2 separate regions of the Homo sapiens genome follow, and region 1 is linked to region 2. Evidence: promoter capture Hi-C in human tissues and cell types (Jung and others, 2019). All regions are on one chromosome and are shown on one strand. The core of a region is centred on a gene start or on the middle of the fragment in contact, and the rest is flanking DNA. Distances in the headings are between cores, read along the strand shown. Region 1 has its middle 7.7 kb from the start of HILPDA. Region 2 holds the start of OPN1SW (opsin 1, short wave sensitive).

Evidence for each region. The method cuts DNA at HindIII sites, captures the fragments that hold promoters and counts their contacts. A contact is called where the count stands out against the background at its distance.
Region 1: a contact is called between a fragment that was not itself captured here and the fragment with the promoter of OPN1SW in region 2, in 2 of the 25 tissues and cell types used here (adrenal gland and bladder).

Annotation. Positions count from the first base shown.
Region 1 is chr7:128,445,227-128,451,137 of GRCh38, forward strand. No RefSeq gene overlaps it. Among named protein-coding and RNA genes, the nearest start is that of HILPDA, 7.7 kb to the right of the region's middle. The HindIII fragment of the contact is 7,397 bases long and covers 270-5,911 here.
Region 2 is chr7:128,774,500-128,780,362 of GRCh38, forward strand. It overlaps OPN1SW (opsin 1, short wave sensitive), which reads right to left and starts at 1,295. Exons shown (of 5, transcript NM_001385125.1): 1 at 940-1,295; 2 at 487-655; 3 at 1-164. The coding sequence starts at 1,282. RefSeq lists cis regulatory regions at 1,281-1,848, 1,289-2,283, 1,292-5,863, 1,292-5,091, 1,292-2,391 and 1 more. The HindIII fragment of the contact is 13,114 bases long and covers 1-5,863 here.

The sequences.
Region 1 (5,911 bases), core at 2,718-5,217, 330 kb before region 2:
TATTTTTAGTAGAGATAGGGTTTCACTATGTTGGCCAGGCTGGTCTCAAGCTCCTGACCTCAGGTAATCCACCTGCCTTGGCCTCCCAAAGTGCTGAGATTACAGGCGTGAGCCACTGCACCCAGCCTGGTTTACTGATCTTTAGTGCATGTGAGTGATAAAGATTGGTCCACTGATAACAACTGAGCATCTGGTTTGCACAAGGCACAGACTGAGAAGCAAATATATTTTTAAATCTTAAAACAACCCTCTCAAAGTTACAGGAGATAACTAATTAACAGAGCGATGAATAAGGATGATGCTTACAATACATTTTTAAAATTTTATTCTGGCCGGGCGCAGTGGCTCACACCTGTAATCCCAACACTTTGGGAGGCCAAGGCGGGTGGATCACTTGAGGTCAGGAGTTTGAGATCAGCCTGGCCAACATGGCGAAACCCTGTCTCTACTAAAAATATAAAAATCAGCCAGGCATGGTGGCAGGTGCCTGTAATCCCAGCTACTCAGGAGGCTGAGGCAGGAGAATCACTAGAACTCAGGAGGCAGAGGTTGCAGTGAGCCAAGATCACACCACTGCACTCCAACCTGGGTGACAAAGCAAAACTCTGTCTCAAAAAAAAAAATTATTTTGGATTCAGTGGGTACATGTGCAAATTTGTTACATGAGTATATTGCATAATGGGCTTCCAGTGAACCCATCACCCGAACAGTGAACACTGCACTCAGTGAGTAGTTTTTCAAAAGGGACACCCTTTGGAGTCCCTGGTAAGAACTTTTAAGAATAATATACAAGACGTTCTCTAGACGGAACATGCTTATCAACTGAGAGGTATAAACATCGAACGCCGTATCAGCAAGCGATACTCCAACATGCAAAAGAACCCAGGATGGGGGACTGGGGAGGTTTCCAGGGTCAAATGGGAGAGCTGGGAGCCTGAGACACCAATAGTTTTAGCTGACTTTGAGTATTTGTCAGGCGAGGGGCTGAGGGGTTCGGTGTGGGTAGGGCTTTGGGCCTTCATCGTTGACAGGAGGGATTCTGACTGGACAGCTTTTTCTCCAGTCCTTTAGCCAAAGGAGGAAGGATCACTGGGAGAAGGAAAAAACGGTGGGAGTCTCCTCAAAGACCAGTTGTCCTCTACCCCTCATTACCCCCTCTCCTGACAGCAGCCACTGTCCTTCTTGGCTAAGATAAGAGACAGCAGGAACAGCCCCCTGCCCTGCTCTAGCCGAGTTGGAACAGAGCCACGGAGTGAGTTGGCTGGCAGCAGAAATGTCTGGGCATCTGTGTCTGGGGGAGAGGTGCCAGCTGTCTAGGCAGAGAGAAAATGTGCCCATGTGCACACACACGTGTGTAAAGGTAGGGCATGTGTGTGTGAACACATGCAGCAGAGGGAAGAGCAGCTGTTGTCATTGTGAATGACAACAGCACAGACACCAGGAGAACCCCGTTGTCTCCCAACCCAGAGACTCAGACTCTGCCTCCCTGCCTGGAGCAAGACACCCATCTCCTCTGGTAGCACCTCGACCATCTACCAGGCAGCAACGGAGCTCATTTGAGGCCTGGCCCTTTTGCAGCTAACCTGGGCTCTCCCATGCTCATAGAGCCCACTGTGACCACCAAGAGAAGGTGACAGCAAGGAGGAAGGCTCCCGCTATGTTCTAACATTCAATGATTTTATGGTTCCATGAAGGAAAGAGAGAGCAACATGTCAATACACAGATTTATCCTAAACTGCTGGATGGAAATAACTTGGAAAACAGCATAGAATGAGTAAACTCTTAAATACATGTTTCCAGTGAGTTTCCTTTTTGATTCTAATTACCTCCATAAGACAGAGGACTGTCCCCAAGCCTTTACTGAGATGAGAAAGTAGGGACTTCTTCACCCCAAATCTTTCCTAAGGTTTTATTTACAGACTTTTTCAAAACATTCACAATACTTTTTCTTCTTCTTATAATACATGCTCATAGTAGAAAAATTGAAACTCAAGAAACTATAAAACCTCCATAATCCACCCCATCCTCACTTTACTTCCACAGGCCTCAGATATGCCTGCTATGGGATGCCCCATCATGTTAAAATGCACCCACATCTCACATCTGAAGTTACTGTGCTGAGTTGAAACTGTCTAGTTGGCCAGGCACAGTGGCTCATGCCTGTAATCCTTGCACTTTGGGAGGCTGAGGTGGGTGGATCACTTGAGGCCAGGAGTTCAAAACCAGCCTGGCCAACATGGAGAAACCCCATCTCTACTAAAAATACAAAAAAATTAGCCAGACGTGGTGACAGGCAGCTGTAATCCCAGCTACTCAAGAGGCTGAGGCAGGAGAATTGCTTAAACCTGGGAGGCAGAGGTTGCAGTGAGCCGAGATCATGCCACTGCCCTCCAGCCTGGGTGACAGAGCGAAACTCCATCTCAAAAAAAAAAAAGAAAAGAAAAGAAGGAAACTGTCTAGTTAACATATATTTTGCAGACCTTTGATTAAATGTTTATGAATTTTAGTTCTGTCATTTAAAATTTTTTGAAGCCAATATATTTTGTTTTCTATATCTCAAATATGTTTGAGAGTCCCTGAAAAGTCTATAGGCCCCAGGAACTGTGCTTATTGTGACTAATGAATAAGAGGACCCTGCCCAGTGAAAAATGTTACTATTTAAGAGTAGATACACTGTCAGTCTCTCTCTCTCTCTCTCTCTCTCTCTCTATGCATTTATCATGGATAACTTAGAGAGCCCATATAGTTTTGAATACTGTTTTTCTCCTATTCTACACTGTTCATCCAGTATTTCGCAGACAGAGCTTGAGAGCAGAGGCCTGCTGTGTCAGTGGGAGTCCCCCACCCACACCACAGCTTCTCAGTGCAGGTTCTAGGACCACACACCTCTTAGGTAGAAAGGCTCTGAGAGAGACAGCTTGTCTCCCTCAGACCTGAGCTTCACAGATGAGGAAACTGAGGCCTGAAGAAGTGGCTGGCCCCAGGTGAGTGGTTAGTTAGTACCACAACCAGACTCAGAATTTAGGTTGCTGGCTCAGGTGCGAGGTGAAGAAGCCACTGCTTGCCTTGGGTGCCCTCTGCCCAACTTCCAGGGCCAACTCTCTGTGGGCACCTTCCTCTGGTGCCATACTGCCAGGCCCTCCCACTCCACTCCCGCCTCCCACTAGCTGCTCCAAGCTTTTGACCCAATTTCCCCATCCAAACTCCTGTGTTTGTTTTCCCTTCATTGTCACAATGTTGCTCAAGCTGTAAATTTACAAAATGTTAGTAAATTTTAATTTTTTTCTCTGATCGTAAAAGTAACAGATGCACATGGGAGAAAATAGGAGGAAAAAAGGAGTTCATTATATCACCCAGAGATGATCACTGTAAAAATGCTGTGCAACAAACATCAATAAATAGAATTAGAAATTGATCAGCTGCTCTGTCATAATTATTATTAATTTTTTTAGAGACGGGGTCTTGTCATGTTGCCTAGGCTGGTCTTGAACTCTTGGGCTCAAGCAATGCTCCCACATCAGCTTCCCAAAGTGCTGATATTACAGGCGTCAGCCACCATGCTTGGTGTGTTTCCTTTCAGTTATAAAATATCTCAGATACATAAACATGATTCGTTCATTCGACAAATATTTGTTGAGCATATACCACATGGAAGGCACTATTCTGGGTTTAGGAACATAATAATTGACACAATAGTCCGAGTCCTTGTTCTCAAGGAGCTACATTCTAGCGGAGGAAGATAGATAATCAACAAATAAATATAAAACAGGTTTGTTGGTGTTGAGTACTATGAAGAAAAAATAAAACAGGGTAAAGGAGAAGAGTAGGTGGTGAGTGTTACTGTACATGAAATGATTGGGAAAGCCTCCCTGAGAAATGACATTTGATCAGGGTCCAGAAGGAAGTGACACAGTGAGCCAAATATTGAGTGAACATGTTTCAGACACTGAGGACATAATAGTGAATAAAAGTGACATTCCACTCTGGGCCACCGGCCCTCCTCTTCATTGTAGACACCTTGTACTATTTTACCTAATGGCCTGAAGACTGAATTGTACAGGAAGAGAAGGAAGAGGAAGAGCTACCCTTAACATTTTAATTTTTTTTGGCGGGTGCGGTGGCTCATGCCTGTAATCCCAGCACTTTGGGAGGCTGAGGCAGGTGGATCACCTGAGGTCAGGAGTTCGAGACCAGCCTGGCCAACATGGTGAAACCCCATCTCTACTAAAAAAAAGTACAAAAATTAGCTAGGTGTGGTGGCTGGCACCTGTAGTTCAGCTACTCGGGAGGCTGAGGCAGGAGAATCGCTTGAACCCGGGAGGTGGAGGTTGCAATGAGCTGAGATCGCACCACTGCACTCCAGCCTGGGTGACAGAGTGAGACTGTCTCAAAAAGATAAAAATAAATAATAAATATAAATATATTTATTTATTTAATAAGGTTGGTCTTGAATTCCTGACCTCAACTGATCCACCTGCCTTGGCCTACCAAAGTTCCAGGATTATAGGCATGAGCCACCGCGCCCAACCAACTCTTAACATTTTAATATACAGACTTAAAAAGTCTAAAATTGGCTGGGTGTGGTGGCTTACACCTGTAATCCCAGCACTTTGTGAGGCTGAGGCAGGTGGATCACTTGAGGTCAGGAGTTTGAGACCAGCCTGGCCAACATAGTGAAATGTCTCTACTAAGAATACAAAAATTAGCTGGGCATGGTGGTGGGTGCCTGTAATCCCAGCTACTCGGGAGGCTGAGGCAGGAGAATCACTTGAACCTGGGAGGCGAAGGTTGCAGTGAACCGAGATTGCACCATTGCACTCCAGCCTGGGTGACAAGACCAAGACTCTGTCTCAAAAAAAAAAAAAAAGTCTAACATTAATCAATATTTACTTTCCTCCCAAATAAAAACATATTAAACTTCATCTTTGCTCACTGTTCCCATCTGAAATGTTTACCAATTTTTCAGTTTATCTTGTTATTTTTACTTTTCTAAATCAACCATTATTACTAAAAATAGTTTTGAGTAGTCATAATTTGTTTAGATACATCCATATGTTTTGTAAATATTTCCTTACCATTTTTTCTTGCATTTCCCTATTTCCTTTTGGGTTCAGTTTTCTTGTGTCTTAGGTTCATTCTTCAGTAGTTTCCACGGTAAGGGCCTACGGCAGCTAACTCTGTTTTTGTTTGTCATCTGACGATGTCTTCAACTTGCCCTCCTTTAAAGAAAATAATGACTTTATTCAGATATAGTTCACATATCAAAATCCACCGTTTTAAAGGATACAATTCAATGGTTAAGTACATTCATAGACTTGTATAACTGTCAGCACTAATTTTAGAACATTTCATCACCAGCCCACACACCAAAAAAAAAACCACCCTGTACCCACTAGCAGTCATTCCCCAGTCCCCTCTCCTCCAGCCCTTGGCAACCACTTACCTACTTTCTGTCTCTGTGGATTTGCCTTTTTTTTTTTTTTGAGACAGTCTTGCTCTGTTGCCCAGGCTGGAGTGCAGTGGTGTGATCTCGGCTCACTGCAACCTCTGCCTCCTGGGTTCAAGCGATTTTCCTGTCTCAGCCTCCCAGGTAGGTGGGACTACAGGTCAGCACCACCATGCCTGGCTAATTTTGTCTTTTTGGTAGAGACAGGGTTTCACCATGTTGGCCAGGCTGGTCTCAAACTCCTGACCTCCAGTGATCTGCCCACCTTGGTCTCTGTGCTGGGATCCTCAAAGTGCTGGGCTTACAGGTGGGAGCCACTACGCCCAGCCCTGGATTTGCCTATTCTGACATTTCATATAAATGGAATCATACGATATGTACCCTTTTGTTTCTGGTTTCTTTCACTTAGCATAATGTGTTCAAGGTGCATCCATATTGTAGCATGTATCAATACTTCATTTTTTA
Region 2 (5,863 bases), core at 45-2,544:
CTTTCAGGGCCCTCAGCAGCTGAGTGTAGGAGAAGCAGATGAGGGAGAGAGGCACAATGAAGCAGAAGATGAAGAGGAACCACGTATAGGACTCGCTGCGGTATTTGGTGCCCACGGTGTACCAGTCAGGGCCACAGGAACACTGCAGGCCCTCAGGGATGAACCTGCAAAGGACCAAACACTTGCTCACTGGACTCTCCACAAGAGTGCAGTGGGAGCTGAGATGCCTGGATTGTGTTCTCCACTTAGAACCCACGGAATGCCCTAAGGCTTCAAGCAGGGGGGTTTTCTGTCCTGACTGGGAGAAGCTACAGCAATTCCAACTGCAGAGTAAACGTTAGCACTTGTCTCCCACTGCCCTTTCGCCTCATATTGCAACTCTTTAAAAGTAGAGGTCAAAGACTAAATAGTTATACCCAAGCTCTCTTTCCACCCACATCAACCTGAGCTCCTAGTTAACTCAGCACCACTGCCCTGCACTCTCACCGGCTCCAGCCAAAGAAGGGTGGGATGGAGACGCCAATACCAATGGTCCAGGTAGCCAGGACCACCGTCAGTGCATGCTTGGAGCTGAAGCGGAAGTTGCCGAAGGGCTTACAGATGACAATGTAGCGCTCAAAGGCCAGGAAGGCCAGTGACCATCCTGTAACCAGACCTGTGGTGAAATGTGAGGATAATGGGCTAGACAGAGCCCCACCCAGCCTGGCTGGCAGAGTGGCAAACAGATCGGGTGGAGCAAGCACAGAGAGACAGGGCTGGACTGACATTTGGAGTGAAGACTCAAACATCCTATTTTAGCCAAACTTCTAGTCTGGGTTGCTTTGTACCCCAGTATTTTAAAAAGCACCAGACTCATTTCCCCCAGACTCCTCTTTAGGAACCCCCTCCAGTGGAGTAGCAACCTTTGCCTTCCCCTAACCCCTTTTTCCCCTGCAGTACCTGCTACAGTGCCCAGGAAGCCCTCCAAAGCACAAACATGGCGACCGAAGACGAAGTATCCGTTACAGCTGGCGACGAAGACAGGGAAGACAGAGAAGATGCAGAGGAGGAAGCCTCCGAAGGACACGTTGACCAGAATGTAGTTGAGGGGCTGCCGCAACTTTTTGTAGCGCAGTGTGGCCACCAGCACCATGGCATTGAGTGGGAACCCTATAAGGAAGACAGTGCCCATGAAAGCTGCCTGGAGGTAGAAGGCCCAGACAGGGGCAATGTGGTACTGAGGCCCATCCCACGGCCCCACTGAAGAGATATTTTTGAACAGATAAAACTCTTCCTCCGACATTTTTCTCATGGATGCCCCACACCCCCCTCTGAGTCCTCTTATAGGTGATCCTCCCACCCCACAAAACCCCTCCTCTAAAAACACTTGGGCTCTGTGAATGATCAATACTAATCCTAAACCTCCCAAGGACAAAGTTTGGGATTAGAAATCCCTAAACCACTACCTAAACCTTTTGTGGCCCCAAAGCCGATTGTGTTCTTCAGAGGATAAGAGATTGGGCTCAAATAATCTGGATATGCAATGCTGGGTGCTGGGATGAACAGAAGTGGACTCCCTGAGGTCTGGGAGGTGCTGACCCATATTCACTGAAGATGCTTCCACTTTTTTGTTCTTTTAATGGGGCTATAGAAAGGGCACGCCTCTTATTTTGGCTTCTGGCACAACTGTATCAGTTAAGTTTTCCTCAACTCATCTGCCCCTTTGTGGAAGGTGCCCATCTTAAGTCTGCTGAGAGGCTAGGAACCAGCCCTGGGCTGCAGGAAAGGGCTGGGAGTGGGGAGTGCCCTGGAAGCACATCAGTAAACAGCCTTGATGGAACAGGACTTAGGCAACTTGACAATGCCTAGAGGTCTAGGGCATCCCTGAGCCAGGCTGCCTCCATTTCTTTGTGTTGAATCTACTCAAAGAGTGTGCCTTTCCTACTCAGACCTCCAGCCAGGGAGGTGGGTCTGTTCACTGTCCTTACGCCATGTTCATGCCTACCCCTACCCTTAGCTCAACAAGTCGCCACAGTCTTCCTCCTGTCTGTTCATTGAAGTCTTATCTAGCCCTCACAGCCTACCTCACAAACACCTCTTCTGTGCAGCCCACCCCAGTGACACCAACTCTGCTTTAAGTTCCACCTGCACTTGTACTCAGTACTACACTTTAGGCTTTATGAATGAATCTTTTCCACCTCAGCAGATCATAAATATATAGATGAGTTGGCCGGGCGTGGTGGCTCAAGCCTGTAATCCCAGCACTTTGGGAGGCTGAGATGGGTGGATCACAAGGTCAGGAGATCGAGACCATCCTGGCTAACGGTGAAACCCCGTCTCTACTAAAAATACAAAAAATTAGCTGGGTGTGGTGGTGGGCGCCTGTAGTCCCAGCTACTTGGGAGGCTGAGGCAGGAGAATGGCGTGAACCCGGGAGGCGGAGCCTGCAGTGAGCCGAGATCACGCCACTGCACTCCAGCCTGTGGGACAGAGCGAGACTATATATATAGATGAGTTAAAAGTGACACACTTTAGGTATAAGTAAGTTTAAAAGTGAAAGGATGGTCCAGTAATGGCAGAATAGTTTATTAGATGAATGCCCCCTTAGGCAAAAAAATTGTAAACTGGACACAATATGAAAAACAACTTTTTGAAAACACCTAAAGTATCCAAAGCAGGCAGAAACTGAAAGGAACTCAACTCTTCAATGAAAAGAACCATCTACATTGTTGTTTTTTTTTTTCCCTGAGTGTACTCCCGAGTATAAATGGCACAGGATAGCTAGAACTTGAGCAGAAAGCCCCAGCCTTTTTTGGCTTGAAGAGTCAGAGGACAGAGGACAGGAGACAGAGGACAGTTTGGGACTCCAGAACAGCTGAAGGTGGATTTCCTGGAATGAAAGAAGCCACAGAAGGCAAAGTCTTTAAATCTGCATATAAACTCCCCTCAAATCATAGGCTGACTGCTGAACTGTGGATGGAGGAATTTCCAAGAGCCCAGTAAAAGACAACCACTGGAGGTCTGAAAGAGCTAAGCAGATTTTGACTGTTACCCACTGTAGCAGAGAAAGAGTTTGAATTTGAATCCCAAGTCAGAGGGTCTGGGTAAACACTTAGGGCTTTCTACTTGAAACTCCCAAAAGGCCACACCATAGAGCTAAAATCTATATCCCAGGACTAAATATTTGTTCTGAGAGTAAGGTCAAAGCCAAAGCTGACTCATACTAGCAAAAGATAAAACCAAGCCTCAGCGGGTTCAAGGTGATCAACTAGTAAGTTAATTGCTTATTAGAACAAAAATCAACACCCCTCAATGGAAGATAACCCAGTTTCTAAAGTTCACTATCTACAATGTCTAATATACAATGAAAAATTAAAAGGCGTGTGAAAGAAAAAAAAAACCCACAGGAAAATATGAGTCATAGCCAAAAGAAAAAGCAAGCAATAGAAACAGAACCTGAGATGACCCAAGAAGTTGGCACCAGCAGGAAAAACTTCAAACAGCGATATAAATATATTCAAGAACTGGAAGGAAAAAAATGATCATCGTGAGTTAATGGATCTCAGCAGAAGAATGGGAAAAATAAAATAGCCAAATGGAAATTCCAGAACTGAAAACTACAACATGTCAAATGAAGAATTTACTAGATGGCTGAACAGCAGATTGGACAGCAGAAGAAAGGATCAGTGAACTTACAGATAGATCAATAACAAAAAGATATCTGGAAAATCCCCCAAACACTTATGAATAAGCAATATACATCTAAATATCCTGTGAGTCAAAAGAGAAATCATAAGGAAAAACTGAAAGAATTTCAGCTGAATAACAACAAAAAAGTATTAGAAATTGAAGGAGTCAGCTAAAGCAGTACTTAGAGAAAAATTTATAGCTTTAAGTATTTATACTAGACAATAAATGTTTAAAATTTAAACTTTCACCTTGAGAAGCTGAAAGGGTGAATCAAATCTAAAATAAATAGGGGCAGATACTAAAAAGCAGAGCAGAAAACATTGAAATTAAAAATGAATAAAGAATGGAGAAAAATCAATGAAACCTGAAGCAAAACAAAATAGTTCTCTCCTGTCTCCAGCATCTCCTCAGTAGGATCTGAGCCAATCTCAGGTCACTGCAACCTCCATCTCCTGGGTTCAAGTGATTCTCTTGCCTCAGTCTCCCATGTAGCTGGGATTACAGGTCTGTGCCACCATGCCCAGCTAATTTTTGCATTTTTAGTAGAGACAGGGTTTCACCATTTTGGCCAGGCTGTTCTCAAACTCCTGACCTCAGGTGATCTGACCACCTCGGCCTCCCGAAGTGCTGGGATTACAGGCATGAGCCACTGTGCCCAGCTGACTTAATTATTTCCGAAAGACCGCCACTCTCATGTGCATGCGCACACATGCACATCCCACACAAACACTCGGCCGCAGGTGGGAGTCCTGGTGGAGGTTACTGGGGAGAGCCAGCTAAGGGTCCAGTCAGATTGCCTGAGTCATGGGGGGAACAGGGTGGGAGGGCACTGTCTGGGAAGGTGTGAGGACAGTATTAGGAGGGGCCAAAGATGTGGCCACCTAGCCTTGTACAGATGAGCAGAGCTGCTCATCCGTTGCCCTGGGCAGGACTTCAGGACCAGGGCCAGAGGTCACCTTAAGGTGCCTATCCCTGAGCAGGGCACATGGACTGTGTGTGAGCCTGGCCTGCGTGGAACAAGCCAGCCTCCACTGTCCGCTGGGCTCTGCTGAGGTGCCCACCTCTGCAAACATTTCTGATGGGAGGCTAAATGGCGAGGGTGCAAGACACCCCGGGCCCTTTTACATCCAGTGTACAAGGCTAGGTGGCCACATCTTTGGCCCCTCCTAATACTGTCCTCACGCCTTCCCAGACAGTGCCCTCCCACCCTGTTCCCCCAACAGCAGAGGGAGACAATGGGCCCAAGCTGGAGGCAACCCAATCCCTGAGGGGCTCAGACCAAAAAGAGCCTCACCCAAGCGCAAAGTCTTACCGGTGCTCAAGCCATGGACAAAAATTCTCCAAAGTCATGGAGGCCACGGAGTAGGAGGAGGCAAGCTTCTGAGGAAGGGGCATGGGGTAAAGGAGGAAGAGAAAATAGAAAAACTGGAGGCAGACTGGGCACGGTGGCTCACACCTGTAATCCCACCACTTTTGGAGGCCAAGGTGGGCAGATCACTTGAGGTCAGGTGTTCACCAACCTGGCCAACATGGTGAAACCCTGTCTCTACCAAAAAATACAAAAATTTGCTGGGCATGGTGGCGCACTCCTGTATAGTCCCAGCTATTTGGGAGGCTGAGGTAGGAGAATCGCTTGAACCCAGGAGGCAGAGGTTGCGGTGAGCTGAGATTGTGCTGCTGCCCTCCAGCCTGGGCAACAGAGCGGGACTGTGTCTCAAAACCAAAAAACAAAATAAAATAAAAAATAAAAACTAGAGGCATCTTAAGTGCATTTAGTTATACAGTGCTCTTCCCAGGCTGAAAATCACCTTATTAATTTAGAACATGTTAATACACTAAGGCTTTACAGAAGATCACATGAAATACACTTAGACCAGGATTTCTCAACGTTGGCACTATTGACATTGCAGATAATTCTTTGTCTGGGGGCTGTCCTGTGCATTGTAGGATGTTGAACAGTGTCCCTCTCCTCTAGATGCCAAAATCAACACTACCAGCCCAGTCATGATAACCAAAAATGTCTCCCGACATTGTCAAATGCCTCCTGAGAGACAAAACCCTTCCCCACTCCCCTCCCCTCCAGCTGAGATCCAACCATTGATTTAGATTTAGACTTACAAATGCTCAGAACCCAATATAATACAATCAAGTGAAAATTTGTTTTTCCATATATATATGTGTGTGGCCGCATATA